Regions from separate parts of the Homo sapiens genome. Here region 2 is linked to region 1. Evidence: promoter capture Hi-C in 16 types of primary human blood cells and fetal thymus (Javierre and others, 2016). All regions are on one chromosome and are shown on one strand. The core of a region is centred on a gene start or on the middle of the fragment in contact, and the rest is flanking DNA. Distances in the headings are between cores, read along the strand shown. Region 1 holds the start of SYNC (syncoilin, intermediate filament protein). Region 2 holds the start of RNF19B (ring finger protein 19B).

The links. Contacts are between HindIII fragments. The CHiCAGO score rates a contact against its expected background, and 5 or more counts as called.
Region 2: a contact is called between the fragment with the promoter of RNF19B here and the fragment with the promoter of SYNC in region 1, in 2 of 17 cell types (naive CD8 T cells and M1 macrophages). The highest score is 6.0, in naive CD8 T cells.

Annotation. Positions count from the first base shown.
Region 1 is chr1:32,700,406-32,705,007 of GRCh38, forward strand. It overlaps SYNC (syncoilin, intermediate filament protein), which reads right to left and starts at 2,365. Exons shown (of 5, transcript NM_030786.3): 1 at 2,203-2,365. The coding sequence starts at 2,255. RefSeq lists enhancers at 1,833-2,598, 2,599-3,364 and silencers at 2,725-2,774, 2,825-2,914. The HindIII fragment of the contact is 11,042 bases long and covers 1-4,602 here.
Region 2 is chr1:32,962,751-32,967,303 of GRCh38, forward strand. It overlaps RNF19B (ring finger protein 19B), which reads right to left and starts at 2,059. Exons shown (of 9, transcript NM_001300826.2): 1 at 1,301-2,059. The coding sequence starts at 1,935. RefSeq lists silencers at 1,204-1,413, 1,774-2,343 and an enhancer at 1,654-2,158. The HindIII fragment of the contact is 3,974 bases long and covers 1-3,014 here.

The sequences.
Region 1 (4,602 bases), core at 1,115-3,614:
CATCTATTGGCTGGGTGCAGTGGCTCACGCCTGTAATCCCAGCACTTTGGGAGGCCGAGGCGGGTGGATCACCTGAGGTCAGGAGTTTGAGACCAGCCTGGCCAACATGGTGAAACTCCGTCTCTACTAAAAATACAAACGATTAGCTGGGTATGGTGGTGTGTGCCTGTAATCCTAGCTACTCAGGAGGCTGAAGCAGGAGGATTGCTTGAACCTGGGAGACAGAGGTTGCAGTGAACTGAGATTGCGCCATTGCCCTCCAGCCTGAGCAACAAGAGCAAGACTCTGTCTCAAAAAAAGAAAGAAAGAAAGAATCTTCATCTATTATCTCCATTTTATAGATGAGGAAGCCAATGCACAGAGTAAGAACTCACACAAGGTTCCACAACTGTTGTAAGTGGTGGAGGCTGGAGAAGGCCTGCAGTATTTACCACCCTCCTAGGATAGGCGTGAGGTCCAAAAGAGGTAACTACAGCACATATAAAAAGCCTGGCATGCAGCAGTCACAATATACTTTTTTTTTTTTTGAGATGGAGTTTCACTCTTGTTGCCCAGGCTGGAGTGCAATGGTGTAATCTCCGCTCACTGCAGCCTCTGCCTCCTGGGTTCAAGCAAGTCTCCTGTCTCAGCCTCCCAAGTAACTGGGATTACAGGCACACGCCACCACGCCTGGCTAATTTTTGTATTTTTAGTAGAGCCGGGTTTCACCATGTTGGCCGGGCTGGTCTTGAACTCCTGACCTCAGGTGATCCGCACACCTCGGCGTCCCAAAGTGCTGGGATTACAGGCGTGAGCCACCGCGCCGGGCCCACAATATACTTCTATCTATCTAACAAATTTCTACTCATCCTTCAAGCCCTGCTCAAACTTCATCTCTTCCGTAAAGTATCTCCCAGACAGCCCCATGTGTGTTCTCAGGGCACTCTGTATGCAGCACATCTTCACACTTATTGCTCCAGTTACAGAAGTACATGTGTCTGTCTCCCTGATAGTGAGTTTCCTAAGGACAAGCAGAGTTCTCATTCTGCTCTATATCCTAGGGTGGGGCTCTGTAAGGGCAGACAGGCAGAAACCAGATGAACTCCAAGGAGGAAATCTGCCCAAGGTCGAATGGCAAAGCTGGAAGTAAAACCCAGGCCTCCTGACCTCCAAGCTGTGCTGTTAGCACACATCGTGCTGCCTCCACCACCCCACCCATGGTGCCAGGCCTCTGCTGGGTGCTGCCCTCACACAGCCGCCTCTTTTAAACAGAGAGAGGAGGGAAAGAAGCAGATGACAGGAGGCTCAGAGGAGAGGAAGCCAGCTTAGTTGGGGCCCCTGACCTCGGGCTTCCTTGGGCCCTGGGCAGCCTGCCTCTGCCACTCTGTCCCTGTCCCCAGAGAACCGCAGAGCTCTCCAACCCTGTTCAGGGATGTGGCTGGGAGTCCATGTGACATTGTGCAGGCAAGAGTCCGTGTGTCTGACTGTAGCTGTAGGTGTGGACAGCAGTATGGGTGAGTGTGTGTGTGTAAGACCGCTCAGCTTTGTGCCCCTGTGTGACAGTGAAGGGGTGTCGGGAGCTATGTATTTGCACCCTCACCTCTTGGTACACTGGGAAGTCCCAGAGCCACAGTATGACCTGGGACAGAAATACACCTCACCCCAAACCCCTCAGCCACAGGTCCCTTCCCCCAATAATCAGCCGTGCCCTGCCAGGAGGGATAGTGGGGAGGGCCCCTGGACCCTTCCCCCACCCATCCCAGGCCAGACGGGAGAGAACAAGCCCTGACAGACTCTTAACTTCAAGCTGGCAGATGCCCAGCCTTGCACCAAGTGGCTTCCACACAGCCACTTCAGCAGGGGAGGCCTCTGTCTCCAACTGACATTTGCAGGGAGGAATGAAGGCTAGCGAGAAGTGTCTTTGGCTGCTATGGGCCAAATGGCACTTGAGCGGTGGATGCCCACTCGCCTGGAAGGGTTAATTTTCATGTAGTCCCGGGAGGGGGAGGGGTATTATAAAAAGCCACAGACAAACGGAGGTGCCAGGACCCCGGGACGGCCCGACTCCCCGATGTCCCCTCACGAGGCGGCTCCAGTGCCCCACCCCGGCTGGACCACTACCCCTAGACAGGCGAAAGACGCCCGCGGTCGGGGGGAAAGGGAACCCGTCCAGCAGCACCCCTTCCCCAGCGGGGCGGCGACGCGGGCCCGGCACTGTCCTACCTCGCGGCCTGGGCGGCGCCGTCCCCGCCGCGCCGGGGCTCCGGGCTGGCCATGGCTGCGCGACCCCGGGCTGGCGGCCGCGTTATTAATAGCCGGGCCCGCGGGCCCCTCGCTCCGGCGCCCGCGCCCGCCGCACTGCCAGCTGCAACCGACACCGGATCCCGGCCGGCCCCGGGCCGGGCGCGCCCACTTGGCCGGGGCTCCTGCCGGGGGAGGAGGGAGCGGCCGCGCGGACCTGGGGGCGGGGAGAGGCTGCCCCTCCCGGACCAGCCTGGGGCGGGGGTGGGAACGGGGGCCTGGAGCTGTCTTTCCAAACCTCCCAGCCCCCTCGTCTTCCCGAACCTTCTCTCCACCCTTCCTTTCGTGAGGTCCCGTTGCAGGGGGAGTCAGAAGGGGGGTCTGAAGCCCCAGGGAGCACCTTCCCTGTCCAGCCTGGGAGGGTGGAGGCAGGGTTGGGCGGGCTGCTCAAAGGGAGCCAGCACCCCTCTCCCGCGAGTGTTTGGGGGTGTCCGCTGCCGCTCAGCGCCCTCTGGTCCCCACCCAAGAGGGGAAGGGCCGCAGCCACCCTCTGGGCACTCCGGGCTGTCCCCGGCAGCTGTCGTGAAGGGCGGGGCAGGGCGCGGCCGGGGAGGAGGGTTCACGGCCACACCCCGCGCGTTTGGGGACAGCCTGGAGCCTGGGGGCGGGCTGGGTGGCTGGGGTTAGAGAGAACTGCGGAGGAGTTTACGCCTATCACATTGAGTCCATATTTAACCCCACTTTCTGCCCCACCCTTTGAGGCTTCCTGGGGTCTCTCTCCTGCTCCACCTGTCACCCCACTCAGCCCACTTCTGTCAACTTCAAGACATACCTCCCCCCACGTCCTCAGCCCACTAGTGTGAGGGTCAAACCAGCACTGACGTCTTTCTCCCCAAGAGAGAAGCTGCTGGGCCCCTTCCCAGACCTGGGCTTCAGGCGTTCTTCCTTCGGATTCCTTTTTCCACTTAGCTACCCTGTCTGGGGAGGTCTTTGACTCAATCGCAGAAGAATGCTGGCACCATAACAAGCCCCAGGGGCTGGGGTGCCTGGGAGGCCGGTGGGGGAAGCATGCCGTGGTGTTGAATGTGTGTGGGCTTGTGTGCCCCTGTGTGACTCTGCGGTGATTGTGGGGTACATGTCTGTGTGTGAGCATGTGGATGTGTGATTGTGTGATCTCAGGGTGAATGTGTGTGGTGATTGTGCCATGGTGGAGTGTCTTTGTGGGGCTGGCGGTTTTGACTCTGTGTGGGGGGCATGCATATGGTCCCGCTTGTGACTCTGACTGTGTGCTTGTGCGTGACTGGGGGTTGATAAATGTTCATTCATCCTCGCGTCTGAGTGTGCTGCCTGTGGCTGTATATTTATATTTCTCTGTCTAATGCAAGGGGGTGGAAGATTTAACACCCAGGGCAGCCAAATATACCCTTGTAAGGTACGCACGAGAAAAAGCCAGGTTTTGAGGCTGCTGGTCATTTTCTGACTTACCCCCGAACTATTCCAGGGGAGGAGGCTGGCGAAGCCTCAGCTGCTGGGCATTTGACATCTGCTGCCCGCCAGAGGAGAGCTAAGGCAGCAAGGGCAGGCCTGCCAGAGGCTCTGTTTGCTGTGGTACCAAGCAACAGGCGGCAAGGGTGGCATTCAGAAGAGCTGGCTCTGCCCCTCCAACCCCCAGCCCAGGACCTGGCCTTAGGCTGTCCCTAGGACTGAATTTCTGACCCGCTCCTACCCTCCTGCTCAGCGCTTCTTTAGGCTGAAACCCTGAATTCCCCAGGGTCCCAGAAACTTCCCCACCTCCAAGCCTTTGTTGTTGTTTTTTTTGTTGCTGTTGTTTCTTGCAGTCAGGGTCTCACTCTGTCATCCAGGCAGGAGTACGGTGGTGCAATCATGGTTCACGGCAGCCTCAACCTCCTGGGCTCAGGTGATCCTCCCATCTCAGCCTCCCGAGTAGCTGGAACTACAGATGCACACCACCACACCTGGATAATTTTTGTATTTTTTGTAAAGACGAGGTCTCACTGTGTTGCCTAGGCTGGTCTCAAACTCCTAGGCTCAAGCAGTCCTCCTACCTCAGCCTCCCAAAGTGCTGGGATTACAGGAGTGAGCCACCACACCCAGCCAGGCCTTTTCTGCTGCTCCCTCTGCCTAGAAAACCCTTTCCAGCTCTTCACAGCCCACCTTTTACTCTCCTTCAGGTCTCAGATCACATCTCACAGAGGCCTTCTCTGATGCCTCCCCACCCCCTGCCCATAATGTCCACCCATTTATTTTTTTGTTATGGGCTTTTTTGTTTTGTTGGGTTTTGTAAAATTTTATTTAATAGAGATGGGGTCTCACTATGTTGTTAAGGCTGATCTCAAACTCCTGGCCTCAAGGGATCCTCCA
Region 2 (4,553 bases), core at 809-3,308, 260 kb after region 1:
CAAAACATGACACACAAGAATAAAATTATCTGCCCAAGGTCACAGAACAGGTAATGGCTGTCTGACTCCCAACTACTTAAATGAGCCCCTCTTCCTGCGTGCAACCCCTTCATGGGATATACTGACAGTAACAATTAGACTTCTAAAGGCGGGGAGGGCGAGGAAGGTCTCCACTGAATGCTTCAGATAGCAAAATCTGGTGTATTATGTCTCTGCAGATATTGCATATTTTAATTTACTGCCCTTTAAAATTCAGCCTACATGGTGCATTAAAAAGACTGTCATCAAGAACTCAAGATCAAAGGGGTTCAGAAACACAATTTCTCCTATCACACCAACCTCTGGGCATTCTTCTCAGTGCCCCCATTGAGACTCTGGACAAAGAACATATCTGTCTACCCCTCACCCTACCCAAGGCAGCAAGGTAAGAACGACAGAGTGCCTCCCGATAGCGTGGCACAGAACACATAGTGCTCAGGGTACCCGAGAGCCTATTCCCCAGTCACCTCCATCCCAACTTTCAGCGGTGGTTGTCAGGGAGAACACGCCTTCTTCTGCAATGCTAAGTCTGTCCCTAGCCAAGTGGACACACCCCTCCGACGCGCTGCCCCCTCAGAATATTCTCATTCCCTCCTTGGCCAAATATCCCCTCCCCACTCTCATTAAGAGATACTCCCCACCTTGGCCGGGAGCGGTGGCTCACGCCTGTAATCCCAGCACTTTGGGAGGCCGAGGCAGGAGGATCACCTGAGGTCAGGAGTTCGAGACCAGCCTAGCCAACATGGTGAAACCCCATCTCTACTAAAAATACAAAGAAATTAGCCGGGTGTGGTGGCGGGCGCCTGTAATCCCAGCTACTCGGGAGGCTGAGGCAGGAGAATCGCTTGAACCTGAGAGGCGGAGGTTGCAGTGAGCCGAGATCGCGCCATTGCACTCCAGCCTGGGCGGCAGGGCGAGACTCCGTCTCCAAAAAAAAAAAGAAAAAAAAAAAAAGATACTGTCCTCACCTCCGGACAGAGGGCATTCCCCCAACAAAAAAACCGCCTCTCCCTGTCTCCTAACTTGGACAGCTCCCTTCCCCTCACCGAATGCTTAGCAGCCACCTCGAGCCCTGGGGCAGGGGGCGGGGTGTCGGGTGCGTTCACACCACTAGTCTGGGCTTGCCTGATGGTTACCACCCCGCCGAAGCTGCCGCCTTGCGGGTTTCCCTGCTTGGGACACCCACGCGGGGTCCCTGCTGCCCCCAGCCACGCCCCTCGGCTGCAGCCCGCCGCCACCCGCGCCACGCCCCCGCGCTCACCCGCAGTCCGGGGCCGGGCACCAGCGGCAGTCGGGGTCCGAGGCTAGGTAGCGGCGCAGCATGAACTCCTCGTACTTGTGCATAAGCGGCGGGTCGGCGAGCAGCAAGCGGATGTCGTGCGGGTTGAGTCGCTCGCTGCACTCGGGGCAGCTGATGGGCACCCTGCTCTCGCTTATCTCCAGGCGCAGGTAGTGGCGGAGGCAGTCCCGGCACGAGCGGTGCGGACAGCTGAGGAGGCGCGGGGCCCGCTCAGGCGGCAGCCGCACCAGGCACAGCGGACACTCCACCTCCTCCGCGCCCGGGCCACCGCCCTCCGCCGCCTCCTCATCGTCGAACCCAGGCTCCGCCGCCGCCGCCGCGGCCTCCGCCTCGGCCTCGGCGGCCGGCTCGGCGGGCAGCGCCTCGGGCGGCGGGCCCTGGGCCGCGGCAGGGGCCGGGGCGGGCGGCGGCTGCGCAGCCGGGGGCGGCGGCTCGGCCTGCGGCTTGGCCCGGGCGCGGCGGCCGCGGGCCGAGGCAGAGAAGACGCTGTGCAAGGTGAGGCGCCGGCGCCGGCCGCCGCTGCGGCACTTAGGGTCGGGTGCGGCCGCATGTAGCGATGTGGAGCGCGGCGACTCGGAGTCCTTCTCGGAGCCCATGGCCGGCAGAGGCCGAGGAGCCAGGGGCGCCCAGCGCCGCCACAGCTCCCGCCTCAGCGCCCCTCAGCCAGCGCCCGGCCGCCGCCGACGCCGCCACCACCGCCTCAACCGCCCTCCCGGCGATAGAAGCCGAGCGGCAACGACGAAGTGATTATAAAGCCTCCGCCCCGCGCGCCGCTGCCCTGCGCAGGCGCTTCGCTCAAACACCTCACAACCCTTGCGCCCCGGTCTAGGAGTGCGCTGGGCAGGGCCGAGCGGGGTGGGGCCGAGCGAGCTGGGGCGGAGCTCCGCCTCCTGCCGGTCAGGTGGTTCCAGGGCCGCCATGTTGCGGAGACTCTCAGAGATCCTAGCCCGCTGCTCTCCCTGGTCTCCGCCTCCAATTCCATCACCATGACACCCAAGGTGGACTTTTTGGTTTGCCGTTCCTCACAGGTTGATTGCCACTTCCAGTAAATGATGGTTCAGTTACATTATTTATAAAAAGCAGGCAGGGGTTGATCAGATGGTGACTCCCAACTGGTTCACCTTCCAACATTTCTGTTTATTAAGCAGACGGCATAAATTAATAAAGAATATATTCATTCACTGAGCTTCTACAAAGTGCGAGGCATTAGAAAATAAAACAGACAAGGTCCCCTATTGCAAGGGACTTCCAGAATAAAGTCCAAATTTCTTAGTCTAGCATTCAGTGTTCTCTATGTATTTAATAAACCCTATGTATATAATAGTCTATTTCTAGGCTCACTTACCATTCTATCCTCCTGGTATCTTGCTTACTTACCAAACTTGTGGAAGGAGACCCAGCGTTTTCTTGCCTGGCAGTGCCTTTGCCTTTCTTTTTCTAGTTCCCCATTCCTCTGACTGGGGGAGGATCTGGACCCTTAGGCTTCCTAGTGGGAGGCAGGCAAACAGCTTCAACAACAGGAATGTATCAGGATTACATTCAATTGCAAATAACAAAAGAAAAAAATAGCTTACGATTGAAATTTATTTATTTTTTTTCCTGAGACGGTTTTGCTCTGTCACCCAGGTTGGAGTGCAGTGGCGTGATCACAGCTCACTGAAGCCTCAACCTCCCAAGCTTAAGCGATCCTCCCACCCCAACCTCTGGAGTAGCTGGGAGCACAGGTGCGCCACCAGGCCTGCCTATTATTTTTATTTTTTTCATGGAGATGAAATCTCCCTGTGTTGCTCAGGCTGGTCTCGAGCTCCTGGGCTCAAGCGATCCTCCTGCCTTGGCCTCTCAAAGTGCTGGGATTACAGGCATGAGCCGCTGCACCTAGCCAGAAATTTCTCTCTTTCCATGAAATATAAGTCCAAAAGTAGGCAGTTCAGGGCTGTTCAGCCATCCTCAGTATTTGGCTTCCAGTGTTAAGGTCACCTCACTATGGTCCATATTCCAAACAGTGGGAAGGAAAAAGGGAAGAAAGATGCATCCTCTTCCTTTTAAGAAGACTGCCTTGGGGCTGGGCGCGGAGGCTCACGCCTGTAATCCCAGCACTTTGGGAGGCCCAGGCTGGCGGATCACGAGGTCAGGAGATGGAGACCATCCTGGCTAACACAGTGAAATCCCGTCTCTACTAAAAATATAAAAAATTAGCCGGGCGTGGTGGCGGGCGCCTGTAATCCCAGCAACTCGAGAGGCTGAGGCAGGAGAATGGCGTGAACCCAGGAGGCGGAGGTTGCAGTGAGCCGAGATCGCGCCGCTGCACTCCATCCTGGGCGACAGAGCGAGACTCTGTCTCAAAAAAAAAAAAAAAAGAAAAAGAAAAAGAAAGAAAGAAAAAAGGACTGCCTCGAAAGTCCCGCACATTTTTGCCAAAACATACTCACTCACATGGCCATACTCAGCTGCAAGGGAGCCTGGGAAACATTCTCTTAACTGGGTACAATGTGCCCAGCTAACAATGAGTGCTCTGTTATTAATAAGGAATGGTAAGATGGGCCAGGAGCTGTGGCTCGCACCTGTAATTACAACACTTTGGGAGACCTAGGCTGGTGAATCTCTTAAGCCCAGGAGTTTGAGACCAGCTTGAGCAACATGGCAAAACCCCATCTCTACAAAAAATACAAAAATTATCTGGGTGTGATGGAGTGTGCCTGTAGTCCCCGCTACTTGGGAGACTGAGGTGGGAGGAATGCTTGAGCCTGGGAGGTTGAGACTGCAGTGAGCCGTGATTATGCCACTGCACTCCAGCCTGGGTGACACAAAAAGACATCGTCTCAAAAGGTGGAAACCAGCTGTGATATTTTAAACCAGGTCTCCAGAACTTCAAACTTTTGACATAAAACAAGAAGGGGAGCCAACAAAGAAAACTGAAAAGCGGGGGCCAGTGACATAAAAGAAAAACTAAGCAGGCATGATGTCACAGACACCAACATAGTATGTTCCCAGAAGGGAGTGGTCAATTGTGACAAATGCTGCTGAGAAATCAAGAAAGATAAGAACAGAGATGTGACCACTGGATTTGGCAACACCAAAGAGTCCTAAAGGAGGGGGAGAGTTTAATCCTCAAATAGGAAGGAGGTTTGATGCTGGATGGCTAAAACAACAATTAATGTCTATATTTATCTGGCAGAATAGGCTAGACTTGGCTATGGTAACAAACAAGCCAAAT